Regions from separate parts of the Homo sapiens genome. Here regions 2, 3, 4, 5, 6 and 7 are each linked to region 1. The links are contacts of gene promoters, found by promoter capture Hi-C in blood cells and fetal thymus (Javierre and others, 2016). All regions are on one chromosome and are shown on one strand. The core of a region is centred on a gene start or on the middle of the fragment in contact, and the rest is flanking DNA. Distances in the headings are between cores, read along the strand shown. Region 1 holds the start of WBP11 (WW domain binding protein 11). Region 2 overlaps PTPRO (protein tyrosine phosphatase receptor type O). Region 3 overlaps PTPRO (protein tyrosine phosphatase receptor type O). Region 4 overlaps PTPRO (protein tyrosine phosphatase receptor type O). Region 5 has its middle 5.7 kb from the start of EPS8. Region 6 has its middle 110 kb from the start of ATF7IP. Region 7 overlaps PTPRO (protein tyrosine phosphatase receptor type O).

What was found. The method cuts DNA at HindIII sites, captures the fragments that hold promoters and counts their contacts. A CHiCAGO score of 5 or more calls a contact.
Region 2: a contact is called between a fragment that was not itself captured here and the fragment with the promoter of WBP11 in region 1, in 7 of 17 cell types (naive CD4 T cells, activated CD4 T cells, total CD4 T cells and 4 more). The highest score is 14.0, in naive CD4 T cells.
Region 3: a fragment that was not itself captured here is called in contact with the fragment with the promoter of WBP11 in region 1 in 2 of 17 cell types (naive CD4 T cells and non-activated CD4 T cells); the score reaches 6.5 in naive CD4 T cells.
Region 4: a contact is called between a fragment that was not itself captured here and the fragment with the promoter of WBP11 in region 1, in 6 of 17 cell types (non-activated CD4 T cells, naive CD4 T cells, activated CD4 T cells and 3 more). The highest score is 9.4, in non-activated CD4 T cells.
Region 5: a contact is called between a fragment that was not itself captured here and the fragment with the promoter of WBP11 in region 1, in 4 of 17 cell types (activated CD4 T cells, naive CD4 T cells, non-activated CD4 T cells and 1 more). The highest score is 6.6, in activated CD4 T cells.
Region 6: a contact is called between a fragment that was not itself captured here and the fragment with the promoter of WBP11 in region 1, in 11 of 17 cell types (activated CD4 T cells, fetal thymus, total CD4 T cells and 8 more). The highest score is 12.1, in activated CD4 T cells.
Region 7: a fragment that was not itself captured here is called in contact with the fragment with the promoter of WBP11 in region 1 in 5 of 17 cell types (M2 macrophages, M0 macrophages, M1 macrophages and 2 more); the score reaches 10.3 in M2 macrophages.

What each region holds. Positions count from the first base shown.
Region 1 is chr12:14,801,469-14,805,195 of GRCh38, forward strand. It overlaps WBP11 (WW domain binding protein 11), which reads right to left and starts at 2,010. Exons shown (of 12, transcript NM_016312.3): 1 at 1,884-2,010. C12orf60 (chromosome 12 open reading frame 60) reads left to right here and starts at 2,202. Exons shown (of 2, transcript NM_175874.4): 1 at 2,202-2,283. It overlaps SMCO3 (single-pass membrane protein with coiled-coil domains 3), which reads right to left. Exons shown (of 2, transcript NM_001013698.2): 2 at 3,182-3,727. RefSeq lists an enhancer at 2,306-2,545. The HindIII fragment of the contact is 2,157 bases long and covers 1,536-3,692 here.
Region 2 is chr12:15,563,743-15,568,074 of GRCh38, forward strand. PTPRO (protein tyrosine phosphatase receptor type O) reads left to right here. Exons shown (of 27, transcript NM_030667.3): 18 at 1,851-1,886. Among named protein-coding and RNA genes, the nearest start is that of EPS8, 220 kb to the right of the region's middle. The HindIII fragment of the contact is 3,168 bases long and covers 852-4,019 here.
Region 3 is chr12:15,543,599-15,547,884 of GRCh38, forward strand. PTPRO (protein tyrosine phosphatase receptor type O) reads left to right here. Exons shown (of 27, transcript NM_030667.3): 13 at 2,971-3,110. All of the region lies in intron 1 of LOC105369672 (a long non-coding RNA gene), which reads right to left. Among named protein-coding and RNA genes, the nearest start is that of PTPRO, 220 kb to the left of the region's middle. The HindIII fragment of the contact is 8,324 bases long and covers 1-4,286 here.
Region 4 is chr12:15,584,279-15,588,583 of GRCh38, forward strand. It overlaps PTPRO (protein tyrosine phosphatase receptor type O), which reads left to right. Exons shown (of 27, transcript NM_030667.3): 24 at 2,619-2,773. Among named protein-coding and RNA genes, the nearest start is that of EPS8, 200 kb to the right of the region's middle. The HindIII fragment of the contact is 1,025 bases long and covers 1,396-2,420 here.
Region 5 is chr12:15,792,931-15,797,275 of GRCh38, forward strand. No RefSeq gene overlaps it. Among named protein-coding and RNA genes, the nearest start is that of EPS8, 5.7 kb to the left of the region's middle. The HindIII fragment of the contact is 2,050 bases long and covers 1,215-3,264 here.
Region 6 is chr12:14,252,350-14,256,356 of GRCh38, forward strand. It overlaps the pseudogene GNAI2P1. Among named protein-coding and RNA genes, the nearest start is that of ATF7IP, 110 kb to the right of the region's middle. The HindIII fragment of the contact is 4,306 bases long and covers 1-3,604 here.
Region 7 is chr12:15,522,050-15,525,885 of GRCh38, forward strand. PTPRO (protein tyrosine phosphatase receptor type O) reads left to right here. Exons shown (of 27, transcript NM_030667.3): 11 at 2,765-2,916. Among named protein-coding and RNA genes, the nearest start is that of PTPRO, 200 kb to the left of the region's middle. RefSeq lists an enhancer at 3,509-3,836. The HindIII fragment of the contact is 2,126 bases long and covers 1,382-3,507 here.

The DNA.
Region 1 (3,727 bases), core at 760-3,259:
ATGTATTTCTTCCTTTTTCTAGTCCCTACCAATCTCTGAAAAAAAATTCCTTTAATTAGAAATTCTGTGAGACTGTTCTTTCCTTAGTTTTGACTTTAATGTCCAAGAAAGATGGCATCACCTTTCTTGACCATGAAAATTTAGATCTCTATCATTCTTCAGAAATGTGATGAGTGTGAAGACCACTTTGAATATCCTCAAGTCATCAGTTTAGCTTTTTTCTTATGGATCACAGCACTGACTTTGTCAACTGATAAAAACAACTAGAAAATGCTTTAACGATATGGCACAAACCATGAACATCAGAATTCATTAGTCCTTCTTCTATAACCTCCCTTTATTAACATGTAATTGTAAAAGAAGAATAAGAAGGGAATGGGGGTAATGGATCTAGGCTCAAAACACATACCTCACCTTTGCCTCTCTCCATGGTTTTTCTTGGCATGTATGCTGTACATTCTCAATACTTCTAAGACACTAAAAACTCATTAATTTAAGCATATTTAATTCAGATTCAGTTCTAGTTCAGATATAATGCTTGACTCTCAAGAGTTCAAAACACAACTAAAAATGCAAATATTTGAAATTAGTGCTATACTGAGAGCTCCCCAAAACTTAAATATTAAGACACATATTTTTCTTACTAAGACCTGACTCCCAATATATATTTCTTAAGGTAATTAAAGGGAATACTTATTTTTGTTTGAGGAAAAAATATTTTGTAAGCTAAAACTTTTATTAACACAGTACCCTATTACATGACTTCTTCCTCTTATTCCAAAATAATGGGGCTTAATTTTTTGAAGCGCAGTCTTTCCAGTAATAAAGGCGGACAAATTTGCTTCCTTTTGCAAGTAGACACTTTTTAAAGGTAAGAAAGGGAAGATTTTGTCAGCCCAGTTTATTACAGTTAATGTCTCTTTCACCAAGTGTCCAACTGCCCCGAAAGCCAGATGTTTCAGAAAGCCAGATGTTTCACAGCTGTTCTGGTGGCAATTACTTCAAGACAGCGGTATCAAAGGCTCTGATTTTTAGCTTCCTCATCTAAAAAATGGGGACATCAATTACTTTATAACAAAGCTCTGATGATACAATGAGATTACAAATAAAATATCCTGTGATGTTTGACTCACTACTTAACTAAAATCTTTATAATGGATCCATATTCCTGGCCTAGCTACCATACACCCTGTCAAGTGGTTTCCTTCTAAGAAAAACTGGGGATGGGGGGGTTAGGGGGGTGGGAGAGCAGCAGGGAGTAGGAGGTAGGGAAGGAGGAAAACAAGCAAAATCAGTACATATACAAGCTCTCCCATCTTTGATTGCCTGCGTTTTTTGTGCTTTCCTTTCTCAAGTTTCCTCAGGCTCATGTTCTGAATCTCCTCCCCCACAAATGAAACACAACGGATACGAATTACAGAGAATTTTACGGAAGACACTGGAGCTTAAGTCTGCAGATTAGTTTTTTGTCTACAAGCGGAGGCGACTGGAAAATCAAGCCAAATAAGCGTTGGATAACTCTAAACAGCCAAAGAAGCTTCAATGGGATAGGGTCCAGGTTCACCAAAGGAGGCAACACCAGCAACTGACGAAACCATAGCGACGGCTGACCGACCATGACTCGAGGTACAAGACGTCAAACCTAAGGCTACTAATCAACGTGCGTAAGAAGCGGCCCCAACCGACCCGGGCGATGCCAACCGCGCAACCACTGGTCGCCGCGCCACCCCAGGCCCAGGAATAGCCCAGTCCGCAACAGGGAGACCTCAACCAGGGAGAGGAGGAGCGGGGCAAAGGGGCTGGGTGTCCCCCAAGCCGCTGCGCGGGACGTGGAAGGGACGAAAGAGGTGAGGAAGAGTAGTAAATCAATTCAATACACTCACACTTCTGCTGTGCTCCCAGGACTACGAGAAGCGGGTAGGGGGCGACTCCCGGCCTCTTTCACTTCGTAAAGGCCTTCAACTGGGTCTCTCGGTCAACCCCTCAGCTACCGCCATCTTGAAACCTCGCGCCCCTCCGCACTCCTCACGTCATTTCCCATTCCTCTGTCCCGCCTTCTCTTAGCGCCGCTTGACCCTGGAACCATAGAGAATACCCAAGAATTCCAGGACCAGAGTCTCTTCCGGTTCCATACAATACTCAATTGGTTGGTTGTCGGCTAAGAGCCCGCCTCATTGCGCTCATCTAGTACAATAGGAATTAGAAGAAGATAGCTGCTAACTGAGTGGCTGACGGTCCTGTCTCTCGAGTTGGAGGCATCTTGACTTAGTTGCTGGGAGCCTGGTACGTTGAGCCGTCCGAGAACGGTACATTCTGCAGATAAAGAAGCGTTCTGCGTTTTCTGTCTTTTGGAATTACCTTAGTTTTTGCATTTTTCTGTTTCTTATGACCCAAGCAGGTGCGATCCTTTAGGGGTGTCTCCGTGTGTAAACGAATACCCAGATAACATTTGCCACTGAGTTTAATCCGCTTTGTAAGCATCAGGTTATCCCATGTGAGCGCCTAGTACGTGTGGAAATTTAATAGACAGGCAGAACAGAACGTTTGTAGACCACCTGAACAAATAAATTAGCACCCGTATTAGAGTCGCAGATTGCTTATATGGGCGGTGATTTATTATTTGTTAGTAGTGTTTTGAAGAAGAAATACGGGGATACATATGCAGTCGGTTTTAAGTTATATGAGTGGCAAGGTTGATATATATTGGCTATATTCCCGACTGGTCTTTTCACCAGCCAAAAGTCCTCTATGATGTCACTCTACGTACGGGATTCTTCACTTAACTCTAGCCTTCGCCCTTTCCCTACCTTCTATCCCCTCTTTCCGTGAGTCAGCCCCCACTTATTTCCCTTAAAGGTAAGTTTAAACATTTAAAAAACTATCTTAGAGGATACGCTTGGTTATTTCTAATCTTAACCTGACTATCCCATGTAGGAAGGCTATTCTTACCACCAGTTATAAATATTTCAAAATATTGATGGAGATACATACTAATTTTTAGCAGAATCTTTAAACTGCCCTTGAAGGTATAAGATCGGTCCTATACCTAAACTTACCTTTGTGTTAGGAAATTCTTGATTTGATTTTAGACTGAATTTGAGTGTCAGAAAGCAATGACGAGATATTGTAGGTTAAAGCTGATAAACCAGGTAGTACATAAAAAAGAAAATAATCTTGAACTGCGAAGGTGAGCTAAGTTGTAATGTTTTGCAACTAGTTTTTTTTCTTTCCTAACACATTAGTGATCATAGTTTTGCAACTCGTTTTGAAAAACAATGCAAGAAGAGAAAGAGAAAACAGTGTATGTTGGAAATATTAAAGTCTTTCATGTAGCTAAAATTTTATATGTAGCTACTATTTTTAAGATATGCTGAGCAGTTTTTATTTCAATACATTTCTTGTACTTGGATGGGAGAATCAACTATAACAAACACAGTCTGGCATCAACAGCATATTAATAATTTTGTCAGTATAGACTAAAAGAGTCCTCATGGGAATTATTGGTTGGCAAAGGATTTAGAAAACAAACACATCTGCAGAGATTCAGCGGAACCATTAATAGGCTTCCATAGCCTTTGGCGTTTTCTAAAATCAGGTAATTAGTGAAATGGCCCACCTAATGCGTCATGTAGCAAAGGCAGCTGCCTCCTTTTTGCTAGTGTTGAAAATGAAATTATATTCTTTTTTCTGAAAGCTTATAATAAATTATGACTTTCTTTTAAATGAC
Region 2 (4,332 bases), core at 1,186-3,685, 760 kb after region 1:
TATTCAGTGTTACCCTCTTACATACATTTGTTACTTCCTAGTTTCTTTTAAAGCCTGTTTGGATAGGAAAGTATTTTTTTGTTCACTCCTGATCACAAAATGTGTTGGCAGCCTCCTGACTTTACCAGAGCTGTTAGTCATCTCCGCTGACATTCTGCTTTCCGAAAGCACTGAAGTAATTGGCTCTTACTACAGGAAGTAAATGTGGAACTCCTAAAACTAACTAAATTACCATCACGGGGCTGAATAAAAAACATGATCAATAAATATTCCTTTAGGTTCCCAAATGCCTATAAGATACAGCTATGTCCAACATGATAGTGTTTTTTGAGGGGATCAGGGAGAGGCAAAGTAAAAACTGGACTGATTTTTCCCTCTAAATCTCAAGTGTGGAAGACAAAGAGGATGAGGGAGAAAAAATAGAACAAGAACCATTGAATGGATTGTTTTCACTTAGAAGTGGGAAGAAATTAAAACTACCTGAAAACCACAAACACCACTTGCCTTCGTGGACGTGTTCCTACATTTCTTGACCTGCATTATTTTCTCTTCATCCACAAGTCCCATCTTTTCAATCAGAACATCACAAGCCCAAGTCTAGTATTCAATTGTTAAAGGAATCATTAGGTGAAATTCAGAGGGTAACATGGCAGAGATTATTTTGTTTCAGTTCAACTGAATAAGCATTTATTGACCACCCACTAGGTGTTTCATTAACTATGCTCAGCCCTGGGGGGAAGCTATAGTGAGTGTAGCAAGGTGTGTACCTGCAACTAACAATCACACAATGTGAGAAACTCTCCGTTTGCAAAGTGCTGTGAAAGCACAAAGTACTGCTTCGTCCTGCTAAAAGCTTTCAGGAAGTGGAGATATCCAAACATTCATAATTTTAAATATAAATAAATATTTGGACACATTAAAGTACTAAGATTACAACTGGTTATTTACTATAGACTGTTTATTTTCTGAAAAGTTGGGTGCTTCTATCAAAATTATGTAAAGACCTCTGAAAATTACTTGCAAAAAAGTTTGCTGTAACATCACTTGTACAGTCAATCATGTTTCTGTATTTACTATTTATAGACAACAATAAGAATACAATCACAAAGTGCTTCAATAGATACTGTTAGCCTTAGCTAACTTAGGTAAGTTATCTTACTTGGTTGGGTGAAAATCATTACCTTAATTATCTCCTAAACAAATGTAACTAACTAAAGCATGCATTAGCATTTCCTGTGTTTGAGCTTATAGACTAGTAATGATGAAGAGCAAGCAGGTAATAGGTCCAGTTCTTCAGATAGCTTAAAAATTAGTTCAAGATGGAATAAAAACAACGCCATAGTAGAATTATACAAGGTACATGTCCACACTGACAGCACACATTCACATCCCCAGAGAAAAATGTCAGAAAATGTTATTTTAGTCTTTAATTAAGAAAACAACATTCCACCGTCTCTTTATTAGTTCTCCATTTATTCCCCCATTCTTCCTTCCTGCCTGTAGAAATTGGAGTGTTCAGGTGGTAGATAGATACTTCTATATATTTACAAACTGCTTTAGCAACTTAATCAACAGCAGTTAGAAATTTCATTTCTAGAACTCAGTTTTTGGCAAATGGGAAGTATAAAGTGCAGATATGTTCATGCAATCTAGTAGAGTTTTAAAAAATGAATCTGAAATTATTATTATCTTCTCATGTAAGGAAAAGTAAACAAACCTGATATGTGTTTAATGAAAATTAAATAAAACTGAGGTACCTGATGTAATTATTTAAAGCTGTTCAAGTTTAATTATTATGTTAATCAATTCTTCTGCCCAGATAAATTTGTCTTTTCTTTTTTAATTATCAGGAGTAAAAATGGTTTAAAGAAGAGGAAACTGACAAAGTAAGTTTTTCTTACTATGTCATTTAAAAGGATGTTTGTTATAATAATCTTAACGTTCCAATTAAAGATTGCTTGTCTTCAAAGAGAAGGGACGCTTAAGAAAGAGGCAAATGCATATTACAATAGCTAAGCACAATAATGTACTGGTTGTTTATGCCTGAGTGGCAGTGGCCACTAGAAAAGTGTATCACAGAAATCACATCAGAAATAAGGACAATGTTTATCATATCAAATCTGAGAGAGTGGATCGTTAGCAATTTTTAAAGTCTTGGAGGAGGAAGTATGGTATTCTAAATACAGTATATGAAAATCTAATATTTAACTACATCAAAGGGTTTCAAAAATCCTTTTAGTATTTTGAAATTCTGTGTTTATTGCAGGAAAAGGCTTTTACTCTATTTGATGTTATAATAGATACTTTGATAATGCTTTCTCAAGAAACCTGTATAATAAATAGAAAAGATAATTAATCTAGCCTGTGGTTTTCCTTATCTATTAAACCATTAAATGAGAAGAATTACTATTGTGGTAAGTGAAAATTAACCCCCAGTTGATTTCAAAAGCCTATTAGATTATCACCTCCATGCCTTTTCTTAGTTATAATTCTACATATGAAAAGTGGAACTTTCCTTTATATAGAGTTTGTTCTTGATACCTGCCTGGATAGAACATTGGTGAATTAGTACAAGAAGGAAATTAGGGGGTCCAGCCAGGTCTGTGGCATCTATGCTTATGGAAAGAAATCATGAGTAATCCATGACATAATCCAAAAGAAAAGTTGATGTAAAAATGTTTCTAGTTAGTCTTGAGTGGCATATAATTTTATGGCATATATGAAAACAGAATAATTTTTTCTAAGTCAATTTCATTTTTTATTTTTATTTTTTAATTTATTTTATTTTATTTTTTGGAGATGAAGTCTCGCTCTGTCACCCAGGCTGGAGTGCAGTGGCACAATCTTGGCTCACTGCAACCTCTGTCTCCCAGGTTCAAGTGATTCTCCTGCCTCAGCCTCCCCAGTAGCTAATACTACAGGCACACGCCACCATGCCTGGCTGATTTTTGTATTTTTAGTAGAGACGAAATTTCACTATATTGGTCAGACTGGTCTCGAACTCCTGACCTCATGTGATCCACCCTCCTCAGCCTCCCAAAGTGCTGGGATTACAGGCATGAGGCACCGTGTCCAGCCTCTAAGTCAATTTCAAACCAGCATACATTCCACTGGCTTATACCAACTGATGTAGGAGAGATAAGACCAGACTGAATAGAGGAGAGGGTACCATCACCTGGGAGGGATGATTTCACAGAAACAGAAAGACTTTGTTACCAAAAACTGTTGGTTGGGTTGGCAGGTGAGCTAAAGAGGCAGAGACTAGAGCATTTAGAAGATAGCGTCCTTGGACGAAAAGGAGAGACTGTCAAGGCTTGCTCCTCCCATGACTCAGGCAAAGAAAAGAAGGAGAAGCAAGACCCAGACAAAAGATAGGGTAGAGATTAGGAGTGGTAGAACATACCCACAAGCAAAAAAAAACTCACATCAATTCGGCTTCCACCTTCCCCCCTCTCATTTTCCTTTGACTCCTCTCTCCTTCTCTAGAAGACATTTCTTGAAAGGCTTTCCTCTCACCTTTTTATTTGCCTTCTCTACCATTTCTCTTTCCCTCCAAATGCCCCACCACTACCATATCCCCCTGGTTCCCATTTTCTATCTCCACTTGTCTTCATTCCATCCTTCCTTTCCATCACCTCCTCTTTTTCTTTTTCCTCTGTAGATATTTGTCCTTTTGGTCTCTACTCCCTTCCAGCTTTCTTTTTCTTCTCCTTGTCATTCTCCTTCTCCCTTATGTCCATTCTTCTGTTTGCTATTCCTTCCTCTCTCTCTCTTTTCCCTCTGCTTCTTGCTTTTACTTCTTTTAACCCATTAATACTTTGTCTGGTTTGCCTTCTGTATACATGTGCCCATTTTCCTAGTAACAAGATGAAAGCTAGAGTTGTTAAATCCAACTTTAAGGTCGATACACTGCCCAAAGACACCAGCCAGAGAGTGCAGTTCTAAGGGGGTTCATTCCAGGAGAGGAGTCCCAACTTTAGCCCATTCTTTTGGAAGGATAACAAGTTTGAAGTGGGAAAAGCTTTGAACCAGGACTTACTCTCCCTGGATTCCAGTGAGAATTCTACTGCTTAGTAGACATGTGATGTTGGGCTACTCACTTAACTCTCTTAGCCGTGGCTCTCTCAGCTGGAGCATGGAGCTAATGTTGTCTATTCCTACCTCAGGGATCAATTAAGCAAGATAATGCATGTGACTATTTATGAAGTGTAGCGTGTTTTATAAATGAGTTATTGTTATTAAGTAAAAACATTTCAGTTTAAAGGTATTCTCTGGAAGATATAACGCCCTCTAAAATTTACTAAAATGTTAACATAAATGAATTAATCAGAT
Region 3 (4,286 bases), core at 308-2,807, 740 kb after region 1:
TTTTTGAGTACCTATAGGTGGCTACTTCAAATGAAGACAAAGTCATTTATAACACATGACCCTTGTTCTTAAAGAATCTAATAGGATCTACTAGAATCAGGCCTTCACTCACATAGATTATATAGGAAATAATTAAAGGCAGTAGAATGTCAGAGAAGGGATAAATCATTAAGAGAAAGAGTCACCAAATGAGACTTCAAGGAGGAGGTAAGACTTTTTCTTGACCTTCGAATGAGCAGAATAAAGAGCATACTGATTGAAGGCAAACATGGGCTGACATAGAGCACTGCCCTGAAGTTCAGTGAGAAGACTGTCTTTCCCAGGAGGCAACACATCTGTGTGTCAGGAATGGTGGTGAAGCTGGTTGGATAGCATGCAGCCAGTTTAAGCAGGATCTTAAAGACATGGTATGTTTGGATGTGATACCACAGACAATGCACAGATAGGATTTAACATGAGTGAAATGGCATTTTAAGGTGATTTTAATCCGTTGTTGACAAAATGAAGAAAGAATTGATTAGAGCCAGGGAAAAAGAGGCACAGCAAGTTTGTGATGATCAATGAATGTGATCACAAAAGTCTAGACATGCAATATAATTTAAAAATAGATTAAAGGAGGCCGGGGGTGGTGGCTCATGCCTATAATCCCAGCTCCCAGCACTTTGGGAGGCAGAGGCAGGCAGATCACAAGGTCAGGAGATCGAGACCATCCTGGCCAACATGGTGAAACCCTGTCTCTACTAAAAATACAAAAAAATTAGCTGGGCATGGTGGCATGCGCCTGTAGTCTCAGCTACTCAGGAGGCTGAGGCAGGAGAATTTTTTGAACCCGGGAGGCAGAGGTTGCAGTGAGCCGAGATTGCACCACCACTGCACTCCAGCCTGGTGACAGAGCGAGACTCCATCTCAAAAAAAAAAAAAAAAAAAAAGATTAAAGGAAAAGGTAACGAGTTTTTAAAAGATATGCTCTCTGGGACTGAGAAATAAGGGAAGAGCCTCAGAATTGTGACTGAGGAACAATTCTGTAGTGTGCATTTTTAAAAAAGAAAAGCCTAGGCTCAGCCTAACTAATCATTCATCTATGCCCCCAAACAACTTCACACTTGGTTCTATAGATTCAAGTTCCACATGAGTCAGAATCCCTAAAGGACATAATCCTATTAGCAAAGGCAGTTATAAAGGAAGTGAGAAGTGGAAATTGACCTCTGTGTTTCATTAGCAGTCTTCCTCAGAGCAGAAGTGGGACAATACAATGCCTGGAGGACTGGACAATTCATTGCAAGTGAAAAAGGGCTCCTGACACCTATTGTGAATTTTGCTTGCCTAAGAAGAACTCATCTCTTTCCTCCTTCAACTCTTCTGCCTAACCTTGTCAAGTTGCTGCAGGAAAGAAACATGCTTCTTTTTAGTTGGACACAAGTTTAGGAGATCTGTGATAAATCATGGCAAGAATGATTTTGACATACTTCTTGGTCCTGGGCAGAGTCACAATGATGATATTCTAGAAACAAGGTTCAAATCTTTCCACACAAAGATGTGTACCTGTCAAAGCAGTGAAATGGCTGACAGGACTTTTTCAAGCACCTCTAAAGGACAGGAGCTGGAGAACAGACTTAGGAGAGTGGGGCAGAAAATGAAAAATCCAAGTAACAAGCAGGAAGAAACCTACAACAGTGGGTAGTCGTCTGACAGGCGCATATAGGTGGATGGAGGATGCTGTTATGTGAACCTAGCAGCAAGGTACAATATGTCCAAATAAGCAATGTCAGGGGGTCTGAGAGCAGGTAACAGGGACCCCAGCTTAAAACCTTGAGTTCAGGCACAGCACTCTGCATACTGGGGGACCTAGAGGGAAAGACAACATCCAAAAGACAGGGTCACAAGCAGAAGACCAGGAGACATTCAGGAATGGAGAATGAGACAGCAGATGACTATTAGAATTGAGGAACAGGCAGGGTTTTTTGGTCTCAAGAGAGCAATGCCAGTGACTCAATTACTAGAAATAAGTATGAAAAGGACAGACAACACAGCTTCCTTTACGAATGGATTTATTTATTATTAAGATAAAATGTCTAAGATAAAAAATTTATCTAATGTTTTATTAATCTTCCAATCCCCTCCTATCAATTCTTTTCTTAAAAAATTATATTATCAGCCAGGCACGGTGGCTCACACCTGTAATCCCAATACTTTGGGAGGCCAAAGTGGGTGGATTGCTGGAGCCCAGGAGTTTGAGACCAACTTGAGCAACATGGCAAAACTCCATCTCTGCAAAAAATGCAAAAATAAGCCAGGTAGTCCCAGTTACTTGGGAGTCGAGGCAGGAGGATCACTTGAGCCAGGGAAGATGAGGCTTCAGTGAGCTGTGTTCGCACTACTGCACTCCAGCCTGGGTGACAGAGTGAGACCCCCGCCTCAAAAAAAAAAAAAAATGATACTATCTGTTTAGCTTTATCTTTTTAAATTTTGACTAAATTTTCAAGCAGCCATTTTTCTGTCTGAATTGTTCCAGATAGTTTCCAGAGAAAGGAAGACAGGTTGTTGGCTAAATACCAAACTGCATCTCATCATTAGAAGGAAGCACACCAAATTTCATTTTTCTCCACCTTTATTAAGTGCAGATTTTTGTTTCTCATCCAGGAAGTTCTGTATTATCAGGGCAATGCTAACTTCAGTATAAATGACACAGAAACTATTAATAGATTATGACTATGATGAAACTGAAGTAGAAAACAGAAGTGTTCTGAAAAGAGAAGTAAAAAAATGGAAGGGGGAAAAGGCAAAGTATTCTGCCTTCCAAGTTAGATAGCTATCTTTATGAAAGGACATATTTCAAAGGCAATATAAAGTCTTTATGGTGCTCTTACCTACCTATATTTGAATTGGGGGATGCTTCACCTGCTTATTAGTGAAAGAAGAAAGAATACACTTAGTAAATTAAATTTTTTTTAAAACTTTGTCTTTGCTCAGAACCAGCTCCACCCAAATCACTCTTCGCAGTGAACAAAACCCAGACTTCAGTGACTTTGCTGTGGGTGGAAGAGGGAGTAGCTGATTTCTTTGAAGTTTTCTGTCAACAAGTTGGCTCCAGTCAGAAAACCAAACTTCAGGTACTGTACCTTTTGATCTACCTTTTCTCAGTTAACTTAAGTAAGGCTAATTATCTGGGCAAAATAAGAATCTTCTATTTCTTTGAGCTATATAAAATGAAAACTGTTTATTTGCTCTTTTGTGTTTCACTGATAGAAATTAACAGCAGGCTTAGACCAAGCCCAAAAGTTGTTATGAGAACTTTTATCTTTGTCTGTATCACTTGTTCCTAATTCATAAGTCACTCCAGGTCAGACAAAGGAATAAAGGTAGTAGGCCATTGAATTGATCAAGGGAAGAAAGACCCTACAATATAAAATATAATTTAACAAATATGAACCATTTGCCAAGTATATAAAGGCACTGAATAGAACACACATGATAGAATCAATATTTGCCTTCAAAACATTTTTATATGGTGTAGACATTGCATAAGTATAGAAAAAAGTAAAGTAAAATATAAGTACCACAAGACAGGTCCATTCGACCAAGAGAATTTAAAAGAAACGTGCATATCTAGTTTGTAAGGGGGACAGTCTTATTGCAAAATGAAGACTGAGAGAAGGTTATTGCTAAAGCTCTAGAATTACAAATGGCAGATACGATAAACAGAGTTATTCACCAGGTCAGAATGAATGAAAGGAAAGAGATGAACCTGCAGTTCTATGAGTGGCAACGCCACAAGGAAAAAATATTTCACAGCCAGAAGTGAAAGGAAAAGGACAGATTTGTTAGGGATTTTACATAATATAGTGTGTAGACTAATACTGCGAACATAAGTAATTGATCTTTTTTAAATAATGAAGTTCATGAGATTGAGAAGAAAAAAGGAATGCTGGGAGTGCAAATCTTTTCATATTGAATGCTAAGATAATTTGCTTTGATTCCTTTCTCCTTTTGAGATTCCCTTCTATGAATGTATCTCTTGTTGATTTGTACTGAACAGCTGAATTTTCTCTATTCTAAGAATCCTTTTGGAAAATAACTGCTCTGCCAATAATGGATTTTCTTCTCTATAACTACAGTGATGCCTTCCTTTAAGAAAACAATGGTTAGTTAGCTACTTACTACAACTGAGTCCTGTTAGCAAAAGTCTTTCCTTAGAATAATTCTTTTATAGAATAGTGAAAGAGAAGGAAGTGGAAGAAAATGCTGATGGCTCTCATTTCTTTATGCAAGGGTGTTTCAAAATCTTG
Region 4 (4,305 bases), core at 658-3,157, 780 kb after region 1:
AATATTTGTCAATCCAAATGCCATTTGAACTCTGTTTTTTGTTCTTAGATATTTCAATTGAAAAGCCAGTGCAAACTGATAACCAAATACAGTACAAATCTGTCCCTAGGTTTGCACGTAGTAGAAAAAATTTCAGAGCACAAAATAGGGTCTGTTCCATTGCCTATTCTGTTGACAAAGAAGAGTCACATAGATTATTGCTTGGTCAGTACTATGCTTCTTGTCCTTGGTCTTAAGTGATGACCTATCTTTCAATGACAATCATGTGAAGGACTTGAAAAATAGGAATAAAACATTGAACAGTAGTGTTTGTTTGTAAGGAATTTACTTGTTACAAGCGTCTGGTACCAGAGTGCCCCCTTTTGGCCATAAGCATAATGAATCTAAATGTTAAGCTACAATGAAGGCTAAGTTGCCCAAAGAACATTGTGCTATGCTAATTAATATATTTTTCAATTTGTTTCATTTTTTGTTTATACCCTTCTTTATCCATTCCATATTGATATGTGGAAACTTTCCAATTATAAAAAGATAAAATTACATAAATAAGGAACTCAAGGTAAGAGAAATTTAGGAATAGCTAAGTAAGATAAAACCAGAAGAGTTTTCTCCTTTAACAAGAAAGGAGAGAAATGACCATAACACACAACTTGTCACTTTCTACTACTTGAAATTTGGCATCAACTGAGTGAGAGCTGGAGACTAAAGATCATCAAAAACGTGTTTGTTGCCAGGGACTTTGTGCCCTGCTATTCAGCTCACAGGGCTGACCCCAGTTCCAGGACCCCTGCCGTGTAGCTGCGGAGAAACTAACTACAATTTAATGATTTCCTGATTTTAAATCACCTTGCACTTTTTAACTGAATACATTTTCACTTCAACCGTACTGGAATATATATATTGGCTACAATGTACACATGTTATACAAATTATGATCAGCATTTAAACAGGGCAAGCATTTTCCTGAACTTTCCTGGCAACCAAAGTTATCTGGTGGCTGAGTATTCTTAAATCCTCATGATGTTGAATAAGTAAATTATTCTGCACAATTCTTTATGCCCAAGATAGTTTCTCAACATACTTCCTGAAGAGAGCAGTGAGGGTAGCCAGCGTCTTTGTAGACTTCATGTTCTGTGTGTCTAAGCCAGAGCCCTTGAACATAGTAGGGGAGGCACTGCATGCTGCTGGGGATATATTAGGTGCCAAGGGTACAATGGGTGTAGGGGAGGTGATAACTTATGTATATTTAAACAAATCTTACATATTTATTTATACATTTTATTTATGAATTGTCTTTATACGTTTATTTTCTGTCCAAGACCACTGACTCTTTGAAATTCATTTCTCTTTCAATACCTGAACTTAAATTTTAGCTCAAAACTGACAGCGAGGCCAAGCTTCCCTCCTTCCCAGTTATGATATAGTATTCCAGCCTCTGAGTGAATTCTAGGCTCTTCACAAGTTTGAGAACTGAGGGATGAATCAGACCTTTATGAAGCCTGGGTTTGGGATATTTCTGATGGCTGATAACAAGTGGAGAATATGTAACTCTTACAAGTTAGTTGGGACTAAAAAGAGTTGATCTGGAAAGATATACATTCTAGTTAATATGTACTCAGTTCAGAGAGAACAACAATATATTTGATGTATGGGTTAATAGGAATAGGAAAATATACAAGTTATACTCACTTACTGGGGACTCCCAGAATCAACCATACAATTGCACGGAGCTGGATGACGGTGAGTGATGGTAATGAGGTACTAGTAAGTAGTAATATCACACACATGATTACACTTAATTCACACAACAACTCTTGTTATAAGTATCATTAGGCCATTTTTAGATATGAGAAAACTGAAGCTCAGTGAGTCAAGTCCTCTAGTATCAAAGCCCAAGACAAGGATTCTCATATAAGTGATTTTGTGAAAGTGCATTCTTAGGGAAAGCCCATAAGGGAGCAAGGGAAGCAGATTGACAGAGAAGAAGCCCTACAGAGCATTCAGCTGAAAATCTCACCTGTGCTGGATCCCACAGAGAGTGCTGGGGGCATGAACAGCACCATGGTACTGTCTCACTCTGAAAAAGGCTGGATTTTTGTACCCCACAATTAGTCAGTCATTAGCTGTGGGCTTCCCTCAGCAGGAGAACGCAACCTCTTAGGCATTTTCTATCGAGGCAGCTCTGTGCAGTGGAAGGCAACTATCAAGAGATAGGTACTGCTGTGCTGTTAGCAGCAACTGGGAAAAGTGTGTCCCAGGCTGGCAAAGTGTATCTAAAGGGCACCAACAGCACTTTCTACAGTGTTTAATTCATTAGCCAAAACTGATGCAGCTTCTAAATGACAGAGCCAGGATGCAAACCCTAATCTGCTTAAGTGTTGTCCACAGGTACAGATTAGCCTACTTATCCTACTATTTGAAGCTTTATACAATTAGCGTGGTTTTTTTTTTCAATACCTATTTTATGCCAGATATGGTGCTCAAAGCTGGAAAGGAAAGTGTACTGACCAGGAGTGGAACGTGGCTCTACCTTTTTGCATGCTTAACTAGCAGAGTCCTGGGTCATCCTAACAGTGAACTGAAAAATTAATGCTTGTTTTTGGCTTTTTTCTCTAAAGGCTGACGAGATGCAGGATGTGATGCATTTTAACTACACTGCATGGCCTGATCATGGTGTGCCCACAGCAAATGCTGCAGAAAGTATCCTGCAGTTTGTACACATGGTCCGACAGCAAGCTACCAAGAGCAAAGGTCCCATGATCATTCACTGCAGGTAACCTCATCAACTGCATTTTCTATTAAATATTAGGAGTTGGTTTTGTAAGGGGAACAGCTCACCATTCCATAAGCCCTTATCAGGTTTAGTTGAAAATTAAATAAACTCTGATGTTTTTTAAACTATGATTAATTGATGTCTCACTATATACAATGTTTATTCTGGCTTTCCTGTATCTATACCCTATAAAATAGATGTTATTATTCCAATTTTTAAATGAAAAAAATAGAGAAGGGTAGAGATGTTAAGGGATTCACACAAGTTCATGCAACTAGAACATGGAGGAGTTAGTATTCAAATCCAGGCATGCCAATCTGCAAAGATCATGCCCTTAATATGTGATATTATCCTACTCCATCAAGGATTCTGGGTAGTTACAACATGGACAAATACAAGGTCAAATTATAGAAAGCTGATCACAGCTTGACATAATATAAATAGGCATAAAAACTAGAAAAGGAAAAGAAAAATGAAAATATTCAGCTTAGGAAGATAAACATATTTGCTATGATTCCTCTTCGGGATTGTCTCTTAAATTGTCAGACAGTAGAATGAAAAAGGATATAGGATATAAAAAAATCAAGGTCCACACTAATTCCCAACAGGAAAAGTTATCATTAAATTTAATTTGTTCTTCCTACTGTATGAACAGAGCTCCATCAAAATCTATCTCTGTGATACAATATTGCTGTAAAATCCTTATGCAACCTCAAAAGAACAGGGGACATAAACGTGCTCCAATGGCAAGTGAGAGGTGGCAGTGGGATGAAGATGTGAAGGGAAGCATTGGCAGCCATGCCAACCTAAGCAAATAAATCTACAATCCCAGACCTACTGCCTTGGCCCTTGTGAATTAGAATGACTAGAATGAGGAAGTATATGTGTGCATTCATGTGTGTTTGTGTGGAGTGTGTGTCTCCCTGGAAAGGAAAATGCTTCATAAGCTACTAAGTTTCTGTTTAGGGCAGATATTGTTGCTGTCAATCCACTGTAGGCATTCACAGGTTAAAAGATGTGCTTTAGCAGGTAAGATTATCTGTTCTCAAAATGGTTCTTTTCAAGAACAGAAAATGAAGCTCTTCAACTCTGGGGTCAAACTCACAGATTCCTTTCATGGAAGATAGTAAGTGCAGTTCTGGATATGACTTTACAGGTGCTCACCCAATGGCAGATCATTTTATCTGAGAAATCCTGGGAGGGAAGAGTTGTCTAGTAGAAAAAGCAACCCTTAAACTCAAGGTTTATAGAGTGGGATTTTTCTAGCAAACTTTCCATATAAATTTGCTTGAACTTTCTCTTTTCCCATCATTTCACAGTGATTCAAAGCTAAGAGCCATTTGACTCTTTATTGAGGATTAGAGGGAAAAAAGGGCTGACTTCAACACATAGAACTAGGGACTGTGATGGGCAGTTGGTCAGCGCATGTCAGTCCACTTCCATCTGTGCCCCGAGCATTGGGATTGGGGGACTGGCTGAGACTGGGTCCAAATTTTTCATTTGATTTTAAGGCAACTATCTCAAAGGTCCCT
Region 5 (4,345 bases), core at 990-3,489, 990 kb after region 1:
AGGTTGCAGTGAGCCAAGATCAGTTGACTGCACTCCAGCCTGGGTGACAGAGCAATACTCTGTCCCAAAATATAGGAGCAGAGTCTACAGCTGGGTATAAATGCTACATACAGAAAATGTGGAGAAATTATAATGACTGAATTCTATCTGGGGAGTAAGAGCTATCTCCACATTACCCAAGAGTCAGAATTCTTCAAACATCCCTGTTCACTCCCACTCCCCAATCTGATGTATGAATATAATTTAGGGACTGCTGTGTATACCTCTGTAGACTCACAGCCTTAAAGCCATATAACATAAAACATATCCATGAGTAAATCTAGAAAAGGTACACTGTAGCTTAGAATATTATTATTATGATGATCTAAATCTTCTAAGTGTAACTTGGTAGACAAGTAATTTCAGGTTGGCTATCACCCTTGTTATTATTTCACACTGTTGAAAGAACAAACCAAATTGCTTGGATTATTATATTTGTTCTCACTTTAGGAGGTGCTTGGGCTTGCTTCTTACTTTGTAACTGATGTTTATATTTCTTGTTAGTTATGTTTCTTTACACCCATTTGGATTAACAAACTCAATTTGCTTTAGCCTTCAAATGTCAAAATGCCCTAATTTCTTTTGTAATATGTAATTAGAAATGTATGGAAATTTTGAAGCATGATAGGAAGTATTCTTAACATGGAAATTTTTTCCAAATATAACCTCTATTTTCACCAAAAATAAACTATATTAGTTAAAAATAAATAAATGAATATACAACTTTGCTTACCCATGGATGAAATCTTTTGCTTTTCCATCTTTTTTAATAATCAAGAATTAGTTTTCCACAAAGGGAAGAAAATCCAACCAGTGTTACTTGAGTAAAAAGCATCTGAAAAGAACTTGAGTCTTTTGAAGAATTTAATGAGTGTGAAATGGTCATTCATTCAACAAATACTTTTGGACTCAACTAATAATTATAATTTGAAATAATAATGTAGTTGAATCCAATAGTGTAGCTGAGGTAAGAGGGTAAATCAAGAGAGACCTTTGAAAGAAGGAAAAAGGGGAAAGAGACCAAATGAAACACATGGAAAAGGTAATGAAACTCTAAGAAAAAAGAGGAAACCAAACAAAATGTAGAGGACATTGGGAGCTCCTTCAGGCAAAGAACTCCCCATCTTATACACTATACTTATATGCATGTAGAGAGTTGGCATGTATTTTTTTTAAGCTTCACACAGAAAGGTAAATTAGATTATTTGAAAAGTTCTCCAGCTACACATCACCTGGATCCCGCATAAAATATACTTTGATATGCATTGTAGGACTCTGAGACAGTAAAGGGAATCTCTCAGGGTCCAAAATGAAAACAAAACAAAACAAAATTGCTGAAGCAGGTGGGGTAGGCAGTAATCTTTTAAATAAGACTTAAACCGGCTACAAGGTGAAGAAGCTAATCTTTTAAATCCCATGTTAGCTGACTCTGCTGGAAGGAAGTCAGTACGGTTTCAGGTCCTTGGGCCCACAAGTTCCCAAGAGAGATAGACAGAAATCCTCTTTGGAGAAAAATAACCTCAAGTTAGTGTCCCAGAATTTCCCACAAATAAACATCAACCAAATAGGAATTCATAATCAAAGATCTCAAGCCATATAAGAAAATTCTGCTGACATGAGTGTTAGCAGAATAAACAAATATAATTCGATTTATGAGGCAAAAAAACTAATTAGCTATTATCTGGCTGTATAAAGAAATAAAAATTAAAATCATAAATAAATATCTAAGATGACTAGGCATACGTGAAAAGAACCCACTAGAACTTTTGGAAAAGAAAAATATAACTGCTAAAATATAAAACCCCATAAATGAGTTAAAGAGTAGATTAAACATAGTTGAAAAGAATAATGTAAGCTACATATGAAGAAATTATGCAGAATGCACCACAGAAGGTGAAAAAAGACAGAAAATAATAAACATTAAGAGATATGGAATATAGAGAATGTTAAGATATTACTCATCTCTAATTAGAATCCCAGAATGAGAGACCACAAAGAATGGAGTAAAGACAAGAGAAGACACAATAGCTAACACTGTTCCCAGATTAACATAGGACATGAATCTACAAAAAGAGGAAGTCCTGGCTATATACATGTATCAAGTAGGATACCTGAAAAGAAAATGAAATAGAGGCAGTACATATACATGTATCACATAAGATGCATGAAAAAAAGCAAACCAATATAAACTACAGTGAAATTTCAAAACACCAGGGGAAAGGCAATCTTAAAAGCATCGAAGGGGGGAATATTATTTACAAAAGAAAAACAAGTAGACTGAATAATTTTCAACAGCAATATGGCAGCCAGAAGAGAGTGGAATATCTTCAAAATGTTGAATGAAAATAGCTGTCAACCTATAATTTAGTGTCCAGAAACATTATATTTTGAGAACAAAAATGTAATTAAGACATTTTTAGATTAAAAACTATTCTTTTCACTGCCTTCACTAGATGAACTTCTGAAGTACACTTTCAGATGAAGGAAAGTGACCCAGTAGGAAATACTGGAATACAAGAAAAAATGGTGAACAAAGAAGCTGATTAACATTTGGGTTAATATAAAGAGGCCTGGTCTGTACAAAATAATATTAATAAATAATATGAAATTGTGAGGCTTAAAAGACACAGTTTAAATGCTAGAGAATAACTTACAAATCAGAAGGAGGATAATTAGAGTTAAATCATTCTAAGGTTTTTGTATTGTTCTGAGGAGTTTAATATATTAATTTTAAGTGTCCTTAAGAAAAATATTCACAATAAGATTTTAACAGAAATGATCCATATGGTACTTCACAACCTCAATTTTACAGGTAAACACACACACACACAAAGATAATAAATCATAGAGTTAGTATGTGATGAAGCTAGGATTTGAATTCAAGCAGAGAACGTGGTTTTGACCATTATGCTCTACAATATCTTAAAGACTCTAAAAGAACGGAAATGTGATGTAGAAATTCCAAACCAGTAGAGGAAGGGAGAAAGAATAAGAGGTAAACAAATATTAACAATCAATCTTCCTCTGTAAGCCACAAAAAAGCAAGAAAAAAGAAATGTAGAAGGAAAGGAGACACATAGATAGAAGGTAAAGACTGAGGAGAAAAACATTCAAGCATGTAAATAATCACAATATAAATGGACTAAACTTTCTAGTTAAAAGACAGAGTCAAGGCAGTTTTTAAAGATATAGCTATATGTTATTTACAAACATAAGAACGTGGAAAGCTTAAGATATATCAATTATATAATAATTAAAGCTGGTATAGCTATGTTGACATCACACGCAATGAGCTTCAAGATAAAAAAGCATTATTGTGGCTAGAAAAGGTCATCACATAATGATAAAATCTACAAGAGGAAATTGAAAAACTCATTATCATAGTGTAGCTATTTCAACACCCATTCAACCACTGTTAAGTTATTGATATCTCTCTATATCTATCTCTATCTCTCAATATATATATAGATTACTTATATAGAGACCTATATCTATCGATATATGTATATATCATATATATAATACATATGTGGCATATAGCAATTAGAGAATACACATACTCAACAAACCCATAAGAAATATTTGTAAAAATTAACCAGCATACCTTAATACATTTCTGAGAATTTGCATCATCTAGAAAAGGGGTTAAAAATCTTTTTATGTAAAGGACCTGATAACAAAAGCTAAGGTTTTGGAGGTCAGTGGTCTCTATTGCAACTACACAACTCTGCCACTGTGTAACTCAATAGCAGCCATAGACAATACATAAGCAAATGACCTTAACTATGTTCCAATTAATGTAAGACCCACTAAATTTGAATTTTATGTAATCTTTACAGACCTCAAAATATTATCCTTCTTTTGTGTTGTTTGACCATTTAAAATGTACCAACCATTCTTAGTTTGCCAGCTGTAGAAAAACAGGTGACAGGCCAAGTGTGGCCCATAGGGTGGTGATTCACTGACCTCTGATCTTGACTCATCTGTTTGTAAGGCAGTACAGTTAGAAATCAATAGCCGACTAATTTTTAAAACATTTAAGTTTAAAATGAAATTTTAATTAATTGTACTTTTTAATTTCTAAAGATTAATTTAAATGGGATTTAAAAACAGACTCCCCGCCCGGCATGCTGGCTCATGCCTGTAATCCCAGAACTTTGGGAGGCCACGGCGGGCAGATCACGAGGTCAAGAGTTCAAGACCAGCCTGACCAACATGGTGAAACCCCGTCTCTACTAAAAATACAAAAAAAATTACCCGGGTGTGGTGGCACATGCCTGTAATCCCAGCTACTCGGGGGCTGAGG
Region 6 (4,007 bases), core at 202-2,701, 550 kb before region 1:
ACAAAGTATTGCTATGTAATTGCTCTTATAATGATTATTACAACTTTATAGAGATATTTTTATAGATGAAAAAACAAAATAGATGAGGAAACCACGGCTTCAGAGCTTTGAGTTTTTCTGACCTCAATATTCGGTCTCTCAACTATTGATTACCCTGAACCAGTTAAAAGAAGTGAAAGTCAGCCGGGCGTGGTGGCTCACGCCTGTAATCCCAGCACTTTGGGAGGCTGAGGTGGGCAGATCACCTGAGGTTAGGAGTTCGAGACTAGCCTGGCCAACATGGAGAAACTGTCTCTACTAAAAACACAAATTAGCCGGGTGTGGTGACGCATGCCTGTAATCCCAGCTACTCGGGAGGCTGAGGCAGGAGAATCTCTTGAACGCCAGAGGCGGAGGTTGTGGTGAGCTGAGATCGTGCCATTGCACTCCAGCCTGGGCAACAGGAGCGAAACTCCATCCCAAAAAAAAAAAAAAAAAAAAAAAGAAGTGAAAGTCACAGAATTTTGTAGTCAGTTAGGGAAATCCTACCAGTTTCACAACGAGTCAATCAAAACCTTGCAATAAATACACAATAAAGCTGTGCTTCAAATGTCCTCCAACACCTAGCACAGCTTTTAGAACAGCTAATTTGCTTAGGTGAAGAAATGCTCCAGGCAGGGCACAGTGGCTCATGCCTGTGATCCCACCTCACTGGGAGGCAGAGGTAGGAGTCACTTGAAGCCAGGAGTTTGAGGGCAGCCAGAGCAACACAGAGAGACCCTGTCTCTGTGAAAAAATAAAAAAATAAATAGGCCAGGCATGGTGGCTCATGCCTGTAATCCCAGCACTTTGGGAGGCCCAGGCGGGTGGATCATTTGAGGTCAGGAGTTCAAGACCAGCCTGGTCAACATGGCGAAAGCCCATCTCTACTAAACATACAAAAATTAGCCAGGCTTGGTGGTAGGCACCTGTAATCCCAGCTACTAGGGAGTCTGAGGCAGGAGAATCGCTTGAACCAGGGAGGTGGAGGTTACAGTGACCAGAGATTGCACCACTGCACTCCAGCCTGGGCAACAAAGTGAGACTCTGTCTCAAAAAAAAAAAGAAAAATAGAAAAAAATAACCAAGTGTGATGGTGCATGCCTATAGTCCCAGCTACTCTGGAGGCTGAGGTGAGAGGATCACTTGAGCCCAGAAGTCAAGGCTGCAGGGAGCCAGGATCAGGCCACTGCACTCTAGCTAGCATCAGTGACAGAGTGAGACCCTGTCTCAAAAAAAAAAAAAGCCCCAAAGACATTACTCTTGTGTTGGGCTGAAATCCAGTGAATTGGTGGCCCCTCTCTCTCTCTCTCATCTGAAGGTTTTCAGAGATGCAAATTGCCTACTTGAAATTCTGTGGCATTAGACTTCTGCTTGGATGAGTCCCTGGCCAGGAGTAGAATCTTTTTTTTTTTTTTTGAGACTGAGTCTTGCTCTGTCACCCAGGCTGGACTGCAGTGGCACGATCCCAGCTTAGTGCAACCTCTGCCTGCCGGGTTCAAGCGATTCTCCTGTATCCCCTCCCTAGTAGCTCAGATTACAGGCACCCACCACCATGCCCAGCTAATTTTTATATTTTTAGTAGAGACGGGGTTTTGCCATGTTGGCCAGGCTGGTCTCAAACTCCTGACCTCAAGCGATCCACCCACCTCAGCCTCCCAAAGTGCTGGGATTACAGGCGTGAGCCACCTCGCCCAGCTAGGATCCATTTTTTTTTTTTTTTTTTTTTTGGGACAGAGTCTCGCTCTGTCACCCAGGCTGGAGTGTGGAGTGCAGTGGCGCGATCTCGGCTCACCGCAACCTCCACCTCTTGGGTTCAAGCAATTCTCCTGCGTCAGCCTCCTAGTAGCTGGGACTACAGGTGCATGCCACCACACCCAGCTAAGTTTTTGTATTTTTAGTAGAGGTGAGGTTTCACTGTGTTAGCCAGGATGGTCTCAATCTCCTGACCTCATGATCGGCCCACCTTGGCCTCTCAAAGTGCTGGGATTACAGGCGTGAGCCACCATGCCCGTTGTGTGTGTGTGTGTGTGTGTGTGTGTGACACGAAGTTTCAATCTTGTTGCCCAGGCTGGAGTGCAATGGCATGATCTCAGCTCACTGCAACCTCTACCTCCCGGGTTCAAGCAATTCTCCTGTCTCAGCCTCCCGAGTAGCTGAGATTACAGGCGCCCGTCACCACCCCTGGCTAATTTTTGTATTTTTAGTAGAGATGAGGGTTTCTCCATGTTGGCCAGGCTGGTCTCGAACTCCTGACCTTCGGGTGATCCACCCACCTCGGCCTCCCAAAGTGCTGGAATTACAGGCATGATCCACCAGGCCTGGCCGCCAGGATACTCTTTTAAAGGAGGAATTGGTAAATCCTTTCCCTCTGGTGATAGGGACAGTTTTGATAAAGATGGAAGGGGGAAAACCATGTGCATGACTCCAGACTCAGAAACCAAAACCCAAGTTGAATTCCATCTCAGAGTAAAATCAAGTACTACAGATGAGAAAACACAGACGGTAAGAATTATAAGACTAGTGTGTCTTTTCTTAGGGGATAAAAGCTGTTTGACAGCATCTGCAACAAGTGGTTCACAAACACGTCCATCATCTACTTCCTCAACAAGAAGGAGCTGTTGGAGGAGAAGATCACACACAGCCCCTGACCATCTGCTTCCCTGAGTACACAGGGTCCAACAAGTATGATGAGGCAGCCAGCTACAACCAGAGTAAGTCTGAGGACCTGAATAAGCACAAAGACACCAAGGAGATCTACACACACTTCACATGCGCCACCGATACCAAGAACGTAGTTCGTGTTTGATGCCATCACCGACGTCATCATCAAGAACAACCTGAAGGACTGGGGCCTCTTCTGAGGGGCAGTGGGACCTAGCAGGATGGGCCACCACCAACTCTGTACCCCCCAACCCCTGAGGAAGATGGGGCAAGAAGACCATGGTCCCCACCTGTTCCCTGGACACTTTTCTCTTCTTTCCTTTGTTCTTAGCTCCCCCATCCCCTCAGCTTCAGACATAGGGGAGGGGTTGCCACAGGCCTCCCTGTTTGAAGCCTGCCCTTGTCTGAGGTGCCAGTAATGGCCATGGTACCCCCTTTCTGGGCATCTTTCTGGTACCCCCCAGAAGCTGTGAAGATTCTATTCTACTCAGTAGCTCTCATTATGTAAAGAGGAACCCTGAAATAAATCAGTTGTTCCTGAAAGTTCACAAGAGTAAGAAAACAGACTGAATCGTAAAAGAACTAACTGGTATAAAAGAAGAAGCCAGAAAGTAGTGGACTGGGACCAGAGAAATAATATTTGAATTTAATTAATCTGTTCAACAAATATTTGCTCCTTGCTAACATTTTGCCAGGTCCTATGCTTGTTATACAGTTTTGATCAGACAGACACGGCCCAAGGGTACTTAGAAAGCTAGTTGCGGGTGAAGGGGGAGAGCCAATGTACAAGAAAACAAATATATATAATTGTAAGTTACAGTGGTGCTACAACAGAAAAAAAGAGGTTGCCATGTAAGATGATAAGAAGGTATAAGGAATTTACTTTGGACCAAGCATTCAGGAAGGCCTCTGAGGAAGGCAAAGCTTGACCAGAGGGTAGGAGGAACTCAGAGGACAGTGAAAGGAGAGAGGAATAAGGGGTGGGGGGGGAGGGTGGAGATTTCAAGGTGGAGTGAAAAATGCAAAGATCCTAAAATAAAAGCATCTCTAAGAATCAGAGGGCCAGTTTGGATGGCTTGACCTCTACCCTTCTTGAATCCCCTTTGATACTGAACATTTTGGAAAATCCCGTGTAGCATATACTGTGTGCCTTCCCACAATAACTGATGACTCTTAAATCTCACAAAAACAAATTCAACTGATGAATTCACGTCCTTTTAACATACATTTTGAAGATTATCTTAGCCCAAACCGGCACCCACATCCTTCTGAGCGTACTGACTCACTAGACAAAGCCAACCCCTCCCCTCCTGTGTACAAAAATA
Region 7 (3,836 bases), core at 1,195-3,694, 720 kb after region 1:
GCATATTGACAGAGATGGTCTCAATTTTCACATCTATAAAATGGGTATAATAATAATAAATACATAATAATAAATACCTCACAGTATGTGTGAGAATTAAATCATGTAATGTAAGTCACTATTATAATAGATTATTGTCTTTTTTATACTTATTTTCTAAACATATTGAAAATTCTAGTAGGTTTTATTTTAACCTTCTTTTTTTTTTTTTTACTTTTACTTTAAGTTCTGGGATACATGTACAGAACATGCAGTTTGTTACATAGGTATACATGTGCCATGGTGGTTTGCTGCACCTATCAACCTGTCATCTAGGTTTTAAGCCCCGCATACATTAGGTATTTGTCCTAATGCTCTCCCTCCCCTTGCCCCCACCCCCCGACAGTTCTCATGTGATGCTAATACTTATAACAAACATTCATAACTAGGTATGCTTTCAAAAATAATCATTCACTGAAGAATTTGTAATATATAAAGTAAAAACGCGTGTGTGTGTGATTTTTTTTACCTTCTTATTTAAAGCAAATAAGAATCTCATGCTTAACTTTCCTATGCTTTGAATTTTCCAAATTGTGTGGTGTAAAAGAAAATAGGAACAAAATATTTGAATTAGGTGTGATTTATTAGGAACTCAAGTCTACCATCTTTGTTAGGCAATTCAGTTGGCTAGCCCTCAATCATAGTAATTATGCGGAGGGGCCAAAGTATTAATAAACAAATAGTGACATCTTGTGGCCTTCCAGCAATATGCTAGGTTTTAAAGCAACAACATGGAAATAAAAATCTGACATGTGAGAGGAAAGATATATACTTCTGGGTTTGCAATTTTAAAGATGTTTCTTTTCCTCACTAAAATTAGGACATGAGAAAATACCCTTTGAAGAAATATATGCATAGGTTCTTGTATATGACGAAATATGTTGGAATATATTAGGAGGCTATAAGGAAGCCAAGGTTATTTTCCTTTAGTAGAATATTCTGAAATATGATGTAGATTTGTGTTACTTGTTAGATGCATTGATGATCTTTCAAGATTTTATTGCTAAGCATACTATATAAGTGCTACTCGTATTTCACATGAAACAAATGCATTTTTACTTCATATATTACAAATTCTTCAGTGAATAATTTTGAAAGCATAGCTAGTTATGAATGTTTGTTGTAAGTATTAGCATCACATTAGGGGAAATGATTCTTTATAGAAAATTTCCATAGATTTTAGTTGACATTGTGCTGTATCTCAGAATGGAACACCGACTGTCTTCAAACCAACATACACCTGGAATTTAAATTCAATTGTGTATTTGTTTTTTAAAATAATCAGAGTTAGCAGTTACTTTAAAAAGGTAATTAAAATGTTTTCAGAGCCTATATAGTATAAAGCTTGTGATGAATTCTCTTCCCTCGTTGGCAAATTTTTTATTTTATTTATTTACGTTTTTTGGCTGGGCGTGGAAGCTCACGCCTGAAATCCCAGCACTTTGGGAAGCCACGATGGGTGGATTGCTTGAGCCCAGGAGTTCAAGACAAGTCTAGGCAATATAGAAAGACCCTGTCTCTACAAAAAATATAAAAATTAGCTGGATATGAAGGCCTGTACCTGTAGTCCTAGCTACTTGGTAGACTGAGGCAGGAGGGATGATTGAGCCTGGGAGGTCGAGGCTGCAGTAAGCTGAGATTGCGCCACTGCACTCCAGCTTGCGTGACAGATTGAGATCCTGCCTCAAAAGTAAAAATAAAATAAAATAAAAGTAATTTTTTTTTTTGAGGCAGGGTCTCACTCTGTCACCCAGGCTGGAATGCAGTGGCAGGCTCATGCCTCACTGCAGCCTGGATCTCCTGGGCTCAAATAGTCCTCCCACCTCAGCCTCCCTAGTAGGTGGGACAACAGGGTGTGCCACCATGCCCAGCTGAATCTTCTAATTTTTTTGTAGAGATGGGGTTTTGCTATGTTGCACAGGCTGGTCTTGAACTGGACTCAAGCGATCCACCCACCTCAGCTTCCCGAAATGCAGGGATTACAGGCATTCCCTGCTTAAATTTTTAAAAATTTAAATGCATAAGATGATAAAGTAGCAAGCTCAGTGTTAGAATTTAGCTTCGTGGCTAAAAAAAAAAAAAAAAAAAACTTGTTCTTCCCTTCTTTCTCTCTCTCACTACTCACTCAGCAACATTTATTAAGAGCCTGTTTTCTGCAAAGCACTGGGCTAGACACTGTCAAAAATAATGTCTTGTTATTTTATGCAAATAACATTTGTCTTCTATCCTGCTTGTAGTACTATGATCTTCTATCTTCCTACCCTTGTATCCTACTGTTCTTTATTCCCATAAACACCTTTGCTGCAAGTAAATGAAAGAGACTTAGTTTGCAGGACTCTAAGTTTTTTAATCCTACTTGGCTAATAACTCCACTGATACCTATTAATATTAATTGGTTGATGTAACAAAAATATACCCAAACAAGTGAACTTTTTAGGAATTTTGTAATGGTGACATTTATCCAAAAGACTTTGATATCCTCAGGTACAGATGGGTCTGGGGGTCTTGTATCTTAGATATACAAGATGTGGGATCCCATTAAACAAGTGCCCATCCTGTATCACCATCCTTCACTGTTATTGAGAGGTCCTGAAGTTACCGGGACTATCGTGTGCTGTGAATTCTAATTCGCTAAGTTGACTCTATATGGGATTTCATGCTCTGCTGGTAAGTACTTTATTTATCCATCTATTATACTAAATTGTGCCTCGTTTCTCCCTTGTAGCCCCAGTGGCTCCGGAAATCACTTCTGTGGAATATTTCAACAGTCTGTTATATATCAGTTGGACATATGGGGATGATACAACGGACTTGTCCCATTCTAGAATGCTTCACTGGATGGTGGTTGCAGAAGGAAAAAAGAAAATTAAAAAGAGTGTATGTTTCTTTGAATGCCAGCATTGTGTGTCTGTAAATTTAGTTTTATGAACTATTGAAAACCACTAAGCAATCATTTATTGACACGTCAAATGTTTGCATACCAGTTGTCTGTTTTAGGCTCTGGAGATAAGACAGTGAACAAAAATTGAATTCTTCCTTTCATAGAGCTTACCGTTTAATCTTTAACAGTGAGATGTAAGAGCTCCAACTATTGATTTCATTTATATTTAGAATTATGATTTGAGCTTTTTCTTCAGGATGCCAAACATTTTCAAGAAAACTACAATTAACGTGTTTCCCATTTTTTCCCATATATCACCGACACCTAAAGATTTGGGGACCTTGGGACTACTGATTTCTTTTCTCCAAAATACGCTTTTGGATGTTTATTGATAAGGGGACAGACTAAACTACTGTAATAAAGAAACAAACAAAAAGAGAGTGGCTCAAACAAAATAGAAGTTTATACCTCTCCCATGATAGCACAGGACTAACCAGGCACTTCTGCTTTAAGGGGTCACCCAGGGAGGCAAATTCTGTTTTGTTGTTCCATCTGCCACTATGCATAGTCCTTGTCTCTAGAGAGGAAGCTTTATCACCATTACATGCATGTTCCAGCCTGCAGGAAGGGGAAAAGAAAAGGGATGATGTGGAAGCCCAGCACTTACAGGATGTGAACTGAACTGTCATTTGTCCATGTGACTTCTACTTACAATCCACTGATCAGAGCTGGGTCACATCATCCCCTCTAGCTGTAGGAGAGGATGGGAAATAACAATGGCTGTTAGGTAGGAAGCCACACGTCTACAGATATGGGTAGGTTTCTTTTGAACGTCTTAGAATGTACATATCAGTAGCAACTCAGTAATTGTCTTTTCTAAAACCTGTTATCAATATGTGAGAAAATGTCAGAATGA